2 separate regions of the Homo sapiens genome follow, and region 2 is linked to region 1. The links are contacts of gene promoters, found by promoter capture Hi-C in blood cells and fetal thymus (Javierre and others, 2016). All regions are on one chromosome and are shown on one strand. Each heading gives the region's core, a stretch centred on a gene start or on the middle of the fragment in contact. The rest is flanking DNA. Distances are from core to core; before and after follow the strand shown.

Region 1 (4,110 bases), core at 1,402-3,901:
GTAGGGCAGCTGTCATGTTTCCTGTGATGGAAGTTAAGGGTGTAACAGCAAAGGATGGCCCCCAGGAAAGCATTATAACCACTGGTTCTTATGACTTGATTTACATATAAAAAGAAAATTACTTTGGTCACTATGTTCAATACTGGAAATTCAATGTGTTGGTTTCCAGGATGTTAATCAAAGGCAAAATATCAAAAGCAAAATAGAACATTAGACTTTTTTTTAATAAAGCAAAGACTGTTTCACCCTTGGTTCTAACTATCAAGTGAACACCTTGATAGTCTTTCATTTCCCAGTGAGATACATATGCAAACATTACCTAGAGTGGTGTTAAAGAAATCCTAAAATATATATCAGAATTATTAGTCCCCCAAATGAAATAACCTATTATCAACCAAAATATGTCTTTTCCTGTGATTCTAATTGAAAAAATAAAGACCAAACTTTTGCTAGAACCATATTCTGTATTATCTGAAATGCTGGTAGAACATGCTGGCAGATTAGCAATCTGAATGATACACATTAGCAATCTCTCAATATTGATGAAAAGAGGCATCACAGAAGATGTAATAATTCATATGTCCCTTAGGTGGCAGCTTAATTTTTTGCTTTAGATATTTTCTCTCATATTTCACAAAGGTTATTCAAACTGTGTTAGACCATACCTATTAAATTCAGGCTCTCTTTGAAAGCACTAGTGAGTTAGCAAGCATGAGAAACAGAAGGCCAATCAGACTGTCAGAATGTACAAACATTCCCCTAAAAGGAAAACCACAGAGTTCACTTGTTCCTCCAACTCTAGTACCCCACCACTAGGGCTGTCTTTCCTGGCTGTATGTAACGGTAAGAAGAGACAGTATCTTTATATTTTAAGATGAACTGATCAAAAAGCAGATCCACTGATATGGATACAGCAGTACCATTTAAAAGTCACCACAAATTACCTAAAATACACTGGGGTTTCATAAAACACCATCTATCCATCACAAATAATGTTTTTAGGAAGCATGTTCACCATTTATTTTCTAAAGAAAAAGTTCTTACACAAAATCTCTGGTTGACAAGCTGTTATTTTCAAGGCTGCAGGGATTTCTAGAGAAGCATGCCTGATGTAGATTAGCTCATTTTTTATAACTCCAAGCACTTAAGTATTTAAATAATGCAAAAGAGCAACAGCTAATTAATTGTGAAAGTTGTGGCAAAGCACTATCTATATATTGATAAATGTCTAATGCTCTATTTAGGTGCCTTTAAAAAAGGATATTGTTGCCATTAAATATTTTCACTCTCATATTTCCCCACTATAACAGGACATTGTTGAGAGTCTTCCTTATGAATACACCCAAGAATTAGAAATGCATACAAATTCAGTGTCTGAGATTTTCTAAAACTACAGCTTCGGTTTTTTTGCAACATTTACATTTTTCTAAAAAAGATGTAATGCAAATGCGAAGCCAAAGTTATGAATATTCAAATATGCAAAAACAGAAACCGGGAACTGACTGCCATATTTTAACTAAAATGGAAACAATTTTAGGATTACAAAAATGATTCTGCTTTATACGAATGACTCATCTTCTATCTTATTCATTGGGGTTTATTTTAAATATTTCCAAGGATTCTCCACACGCATTCCCCGTTGTTTTTTCTATTGTCCTTTTCTTAGCAGGTAAAAGGCTCCAAGCTTCCTTCTAGGAGTTTTGTATTTTTTGTATTCATTCCCCTCCCCCAGTTAACAAATTCTGTACAATGTATATTTTGCCAAATCCCCTTCTTCTTCTTCTTTTTTTTTTTTTTTTAAAAAGGCCAATGGGCTGAAAGCACAGGGACCCTCAATTTTCGAACAGTCCCATCTCCCCCCGCCCCCCGGTAAGGAATAAACTACCTTAACGCTACCAATAACAAAAACACAACAAAAAACAAAACCACTAAGGAAAGATGCAGGTTCCCCACAATCAGAAATTTCTGGAGCTAATGTGACCCCAGGAAATCAGAGTTCTAGGAAGAAAAACTAAGGCGCTCGGCACCAGCCTTCCCCACCAGCCGGGGCCGCCTTCCCCAGCGCCGCGAGGGCGCGGCCGGCGGGACCAGTTCCCGAGGCAGGCAGGCACTCGGGTGCAACCTGAGGAATCTGGGGGCGTGGAAGGCGCGCGGGGGAGGGCAGGCTTCCAAGAGTGGGACCCTCGCGTCTCCTGCCGACTGGGTAGGAAACGGGGGCTTCCCCCTTGCCCTCTCAGAGCGGGCGATCCCAAAGAGACAGGTTAAGCCGCAGGTTGAGAGGGCAGCTCCGCGCCGGTGCCCCGCGGATCCTGCAGGCTCCCGGGTCCCAGGAGAAGGGCGGGCTGGGCTGGGCTGGGGTGGGGAGGGCGGTGAATGCAAGGATATTGCCGCAGGCAGGAGTCCACCTCGCCCTCGTCGGGCCCGGCCTGGCCGTCGCCCCCATCTTCTTCGTCCACGAACTTGTTCTCGTCATATTCATCCACGTCCACCTTCCGGAAGCGGGCCGACGACACTGTGTTCTTCGACATCCCAATCCCGACCAGCGGCAAAGGCCTCTTCTTGGCGCTGCCTCTACCTCAGCAAGCCCAGCCCAGCAACCCACTACCCGGCGCCTGATTCACTTCCCTCTTCCGCTCTGAGGCGTCGCCGACTGCCGCGGCTCGGACCGTTCTGGGCCTGCGCGCTAGCCCCGTTTCTTCCTCCTCAGGTTCGCGCTCCCTTGGCGCCTCCCACGCTGCCCCTGCTCTTCCACGGAGAGCGCGCGCGAGGGAAGGAGCGCGCAGGACACAGCGCGCAGGCGCGGGCTCTCCGCAGGCAAGGGGCGGGGCTGGGCGAAGGAGGCGGGGGCGAGAGGGAGGGCCAAAAGCTGGACCGCGGGCAGAGGTAAGAAGCGATTGGTCGTCCGATTGCGTCACGTGATTCTCGGTGGGGGGGTTCCCATAGAAACGCTTTTCTGCGGTCCAGTCTAGGGGGTCTCAGATTGGCGGGGATGGGCAGCAGCGGCAGGTGGCCTTGGCTTTTGCTGCAGCCGTCAACGACCTATCATCGGGGTCCTGCGTAAGGTCCGGCTGGCTGGGACTTGGCTGTGGGTGGGATGGACTGGCTGCCGGACCGAGTGCCCTGCAGTTGGTAGGAGTATGAGGCAGAGTGATGCACACCCGGGCGCCCAGCATCGTTCTAATTGCCGGAGACATTGCCTCAGACTGTGCGCTGCTAGAGGCTGCGTTCCTGAGCAGGAAGCCCGTTTCCTGGGATTGGAACTACCCTTCTTGGCCAGCGGGAAGTCCCCAAGGACGGAGTCGAAAGGTCAAATCTTATCTGTCAGTGCTGTGTGACAGCATCGCAACGGGATCTGCAGAACCTGAACTCGGTATCAAATCTATTGGGAGGGAGGGGAACGTGTCCGGGCAGGCGCTGGGGTCGGGTGGCAAAACTGGGGTGAATTTGTAGAATTTGGGAAAGGGTCATTGACATCTTAAAATAGGTGGTCGTTTGGAGCAAGAATGCTCGAAAGGGGTGAGGGTAGGTTAGGCTCTCTAGTGCTGGGGGAAAACAAAATGTGGAAGGATTGGTGGAAACCAGACCTTTAAGATTTATATTATGATTTGAGATTTATATGATTCCATCTAGGCCAGATTTAAAAAAATATTTGACATCCCCATTTCTGGAATGTAGGAGATAAAGGCACTAAGACGAAGGAAATGGTAGTTGTGCTGTGTGTATTACACTGAAGAACAAATATTTGCAGGATAAAATTAATTTGGACATTTGGCTGGACACTGCTCGGTATGGGTCCAGTTTAGTTGGACCTCGAGCAGAAGACTGGCTGTTGCCCTGTTGTGTACCACAATCTTTGGTTTCCAGTGCTGTGTTGAAAAGAGCACTAGGCTTAGAATCAGAAAACTCAGGCTTAAGTGTTGACTCTTCCACTCATAATGTTTGAACGAGACATGTCACTTAAAATTCTGTCTCAGATTCCTCATCACTGAAATGGAGCTAATAATGTGCACTTTACAAGATTGTTCTTAGGATTATATATCACGAAAGTGTTTCCAAGCTCTAAAATTCTACATAAATGTAAAATGCATGTTGCTTGTACCATTGGTTTTG
Region 2 (3,916 bases), core at 1,171-3,670, 1.2 Mb before region 1:
CCAGCAATACATTTAGAAGAAACAGGATTAGGGAAGACTCTGGAAGCAAAGAAGGCTTTATTAAACATAACCATGATCCATAGCTGGAGTATACATAGGAAATTTGGTAACTTGGATAAGGCAAAGTCTTTTCCCTTTAGGAGCCTGTACTTTAGTGGGTGAGGAAGAACCTTCTGAAAGAAAATGATTTCAGCAGCAGTATAAAAGAAAGTGGGTCACCTGTATGAGCAAACTAACAAAGCAGATTTAATGTAAGTGCCCAAGAGTTCCAAAACAAGGGAATCAGTAAGAGTTCTGGAGAAGGCCACCTTGGGGATACTTGGTGCGGTGTGGGGGTGGATGTAGGTTTATTCTGGGAATCGAATAACATGGTAAATATGTGACTGTAGGATGACTGGCTGTGATTTGCAAGGAAAAGAAATTTGCAAAGACCCAAGAATGGTATCTGCTAAATTGCATGTGCAAGGGTGGTCATGGTGAAAAGGAAAGTTTGGGCTAGAATAAGAGTAATAAAATGAGAAGTCAGGGAAGTACCAAGCATTTGAATGCTATAAAAATGCTATAGCAGTTGAATTCTATACAAATTTAAATTATGGAAATTTGAAATGTTATTAAGTATTTAAAAAGTCTCACTTTATATGTAAAGTTTGAAATGAAGCCAATTCTTGAAAGCTGCGGAGAGAGAAGGAGGCAAAGCGAGCATAATTTCAGCCTGTATGAATTAATTATAAATTCTATCATGCTATTTCCACATGGTGGCACCACTTTGGTGAGCACGTAAAGTACCCACTTTTCTTTATCAAGATGAGATTTGAATGGGTCCAGTTTTGAGTTGTGAGAAGTCTTTATTCCCTCAGGTAAAAGGCAATCCCTTGTGCCTGATGACGCTAATGACAGCATAACTGCTAGACTCTGTTCTCCTCCCTTCACAGCTCTTCCTTTTGTTGCATTCTCTTCCCCCAGTGGCTTTTCTTGCACACTAAGAAGAAGTGTTCTCCTCGTCCTTTTCCCTCCCTCCCGCAAATCCCATCAGCGTCTCTTTCTCAATCCCTCTCCCCTTATCTTCTCAGTAATTAGAGGCTCAGGGACAGAAAATGCACCAGCACGGGCATGGTGGCAGGCTCCTGTAATTGCAGCTACTCGGGAGGCTGAGGCAGGAGAATCGCTTGAACTCGGGAGGCGGAGGTTGCACTGAGCTGAGATTGTGCCATTGCACTCCAGGCTGGGCAACAGAGCGAGACTCTGTCTCAAAAAAAAAAAAAAAGAAAAGAGAAGAAAAGAAAATGAACCAGCAGACGGGACCAACTGCTAGCCTTCAAGGCCATTACCTTTACCAAGGAGGGTACCATGCTCGTGGCTGAGGAGCCAACAGGAGGAAGATGAGGTGGACGATGTGCCAGCCACTGTAGGCCCTGTCTCAGGGGGAGCTCTTTGGAAGGAGGAGAGCCTGGTCCTCTTTCTCTGACTGCTCCACTTCCTGTAGCAACTTGTAGAGGGGTCCTGGAGTGCTTGCATAATATGGAGCTTCTTTGGGCCCAGTCAGCTTCAAGCTGGGTCTGAAACAATGATACCAAAAGGAAGAGAAGCCATAGATTCCCAACAGGAATGAGGCATTGATCATCACATGCCAGCAGAAGAAGGTGGTGACAAACATGATGTCACTGATGTCATCGTCCTGCCATGGGTAGCCAGAGACGGGTCTGTATAGAATAAAGCCTGCCTGCATCAGCCAGGAGCCCATCATCAGAATCAGAAAGGTCTCCATCAGCTGGAGATGACACATGTTGGGAGCCCACAGCTCTGCAGTCAACACCAGCAACAGCAGGAACACCACCAAGATGAGCAGAGAATAAACGTGCAGCTCCACCCCTTCTGAATCTTTAACATGTGACACCATCAGCAGCAGGAGCTCGTAGATGATCAGGACCAGGGTACCTTTTTCTAGGCCCACACACCTCTGAGGCAGCACATTCTTGCTCATGAAGTCCACACAGCCATTAAGAGTGAGGAGGATGAACATGGTGAGGTGCTGCCACTCTTTGGGGTACATGAACCTTGATGGCACTTGCTTCCTCATGAGCACCATCCCGCCATCAAGACAGAGAACCACATAAAATGTTAAGAGGGAGCCAGTCACTATCTTTAGTAATCCTCCATAGGCTATTTTCCACAGCCTGGCACATCTTTGCTTATTCCTGGGAGAGCACAAAGGATACAGGAGACAACCTTTGAGTATCATGCCCTTGGAGACCACTGTGGCCTGATATAGTCCATAAGAGAAAAGAAATAGCCCCAGTTAAAAATGGCCAATGGACTTTCCCATGGAATACAGGCCTGTCCGACTGAAGCGTGAAGAGCAATACTCAGGACCTCTCTGCTCTCCTCTCCCTCACAGGCCTCTCGAGTTCTGGGCCTATATATACAGAGCTAAGTTCTACCTACTTTTATCATCTCCTTCTGCCCACTGCTCTCTCACAGACTGGAAAGTTCTGGACAGGAGCCTAGGTTTTTAGTGAGGTGGGTCTCATTGTTCCATTTCATTCCAGTACACTGGGAACTAATTGAGTTCTGCCAAAGTAGAAACATAAATATTTTTTAGTATGCACCTGTGGGAATTTGTGCTCTCAGGAGCTCTGCTTTTGGACCCTTGAGGACCTTCTGGTTACACTTGTCCCTCTCTCTCATGGCTTGCTTCCTTCTGCCCCTGTTCAATGCTCGGAGTAGAAAAAGAGAGGTGCCTGAGCACGGAGATTATCCAGAGAAGACCCGGGTTACTCACAAACCTTAATGCATCCTTTAAGACTCCTTACTCGGACAGGCATGGTGGCTCAAGCCTGTAATCCCAGCACTTTGGGAGGCCAAGGCAGATCTCGAGGTCAGGAGTTCGAGATCAGCCTGGCCAACATGGTGAAATCCCATCTCCACTAAAAATACAAAAACTAGCTGGGCATGGTAAAGAGTGCCTGTAATCCCAGCCACTTGGAAGGCTGAGGCAGGAGAATTACTTGAACCCGGGAGGCGGATGTTGCAGTGGGCCAGGATCATCTCACTACACTCCAGCCTGGGTGACAGAGCGAGACTGTCTCAAAAAAAAAAAAGACTCCTTACTCATATGTTGGGTCATATACTGAGAGCAAATACATTCTTCCTAGACATAAAAGTTTATAAACGTTTGGATGTGTGCTCATATATATAGATACTGAGCTCTTGTCCTCTTCATTCTTCTGTAACAGTTTTTGGGGATCACAAAGAAAGCAGCTCAATTGCCCCAAATTATCTTTCCAAAGAACAGTAGATGAATGTAAAATGTCACCTTTTGAGATCAATTTTGGAATGTTAAGGTATAATTTTTTATTAAAATGCAGATATGTTGAGATAAGTAGATCCAACAAACTGCTTATATTTTAATGTGAATTAGGTCCTCAACTTTATTCTCTCTTTAATTATCATTTACTATGTGTCTAACACATATAGGCAGAAAGAGTTCTAAGCACTAGGTAGCAGCCAGCTGCATATGAGGGGTTGCATCCAAGGCAAGAGTCTTCATTTATTTATTTTTATTTCTATTTTTATTTTTATTTTTAGACAGTGTCTCGCTTTGTTGCCCAGGTTGCAGTGCAGTGGCTTGATGACGGCTCACTGCAGCCTCAACCTCCTGAGCTCAATCAATCCTCCTGCCTCAGCTGCTGAGTAGCTGGGACAACAGACATGAGCCACCACATCCAGCTATTTTTTGTAGAGATGAGGTCTCACTACATTGTCCATGCTGGGTCTCAAACTCCTGGGCTCAAGTGATCCACCCACCTCAGCCTCCCAAAGTACTGGGATTACAGGCGTGAGCCACCGTACCTGGCCCCATTTATTTATTTATTCATTATTTTTTATTTTTTAAAATGAAAGCACATTTATTAAGAAA

Evidence for each region. Contacts are between HindIII fragments. The CHiCAGO score rates a contact against its expected background, and 5 or more counts as called.
Region 2: a contact is called between the fragment with the promoter of TEDDM1 here and the fragment with the promoter of ARPC5 in region 1, in 1 of 17 cell types (neutrophils). The highest score is 5.2, in neutrophils.

What each region holds. Positions count from the first base shown.
Region 1 is chr1:183,633,132-183,637,241 of GRCh38, forward strand. It overlaps ARPC5 (actin related protein 2/3 complex subunit 5), which reads right to left and starts at 2,652. Exons shown (of 4, transcript NM_005717.4): 1 at 2,386-2,652; 2 at 1-23. The coding sequence starts at 2,528. It also overlaps a transcript of RGL1 not described here. RefSeq lists enhancers at 1,848-2,348, 2,346-2,625 and silencers at 1,936-2,154, 2,106-2,165, 2,246-2,295, 2,776-2,935. The HindIII fragment of the contact is 3,712 bases long and covers 1,683-4,110 here.
Region 2 is chr1:182,398,247-182,402,162 of GRCh38, forward strand. TEDDM1 (transmembrane epididymal protein 1) reads right to left here and starts at 2,421. Exons shown (of 1, transcript NM_172000.4): 1 at 1-2,421. The coding sequence starts at 2,239. The coding sequence ends at 1,418. The HindIII fragment of the contact is 8,350 bases long and covers 1-3,916 here.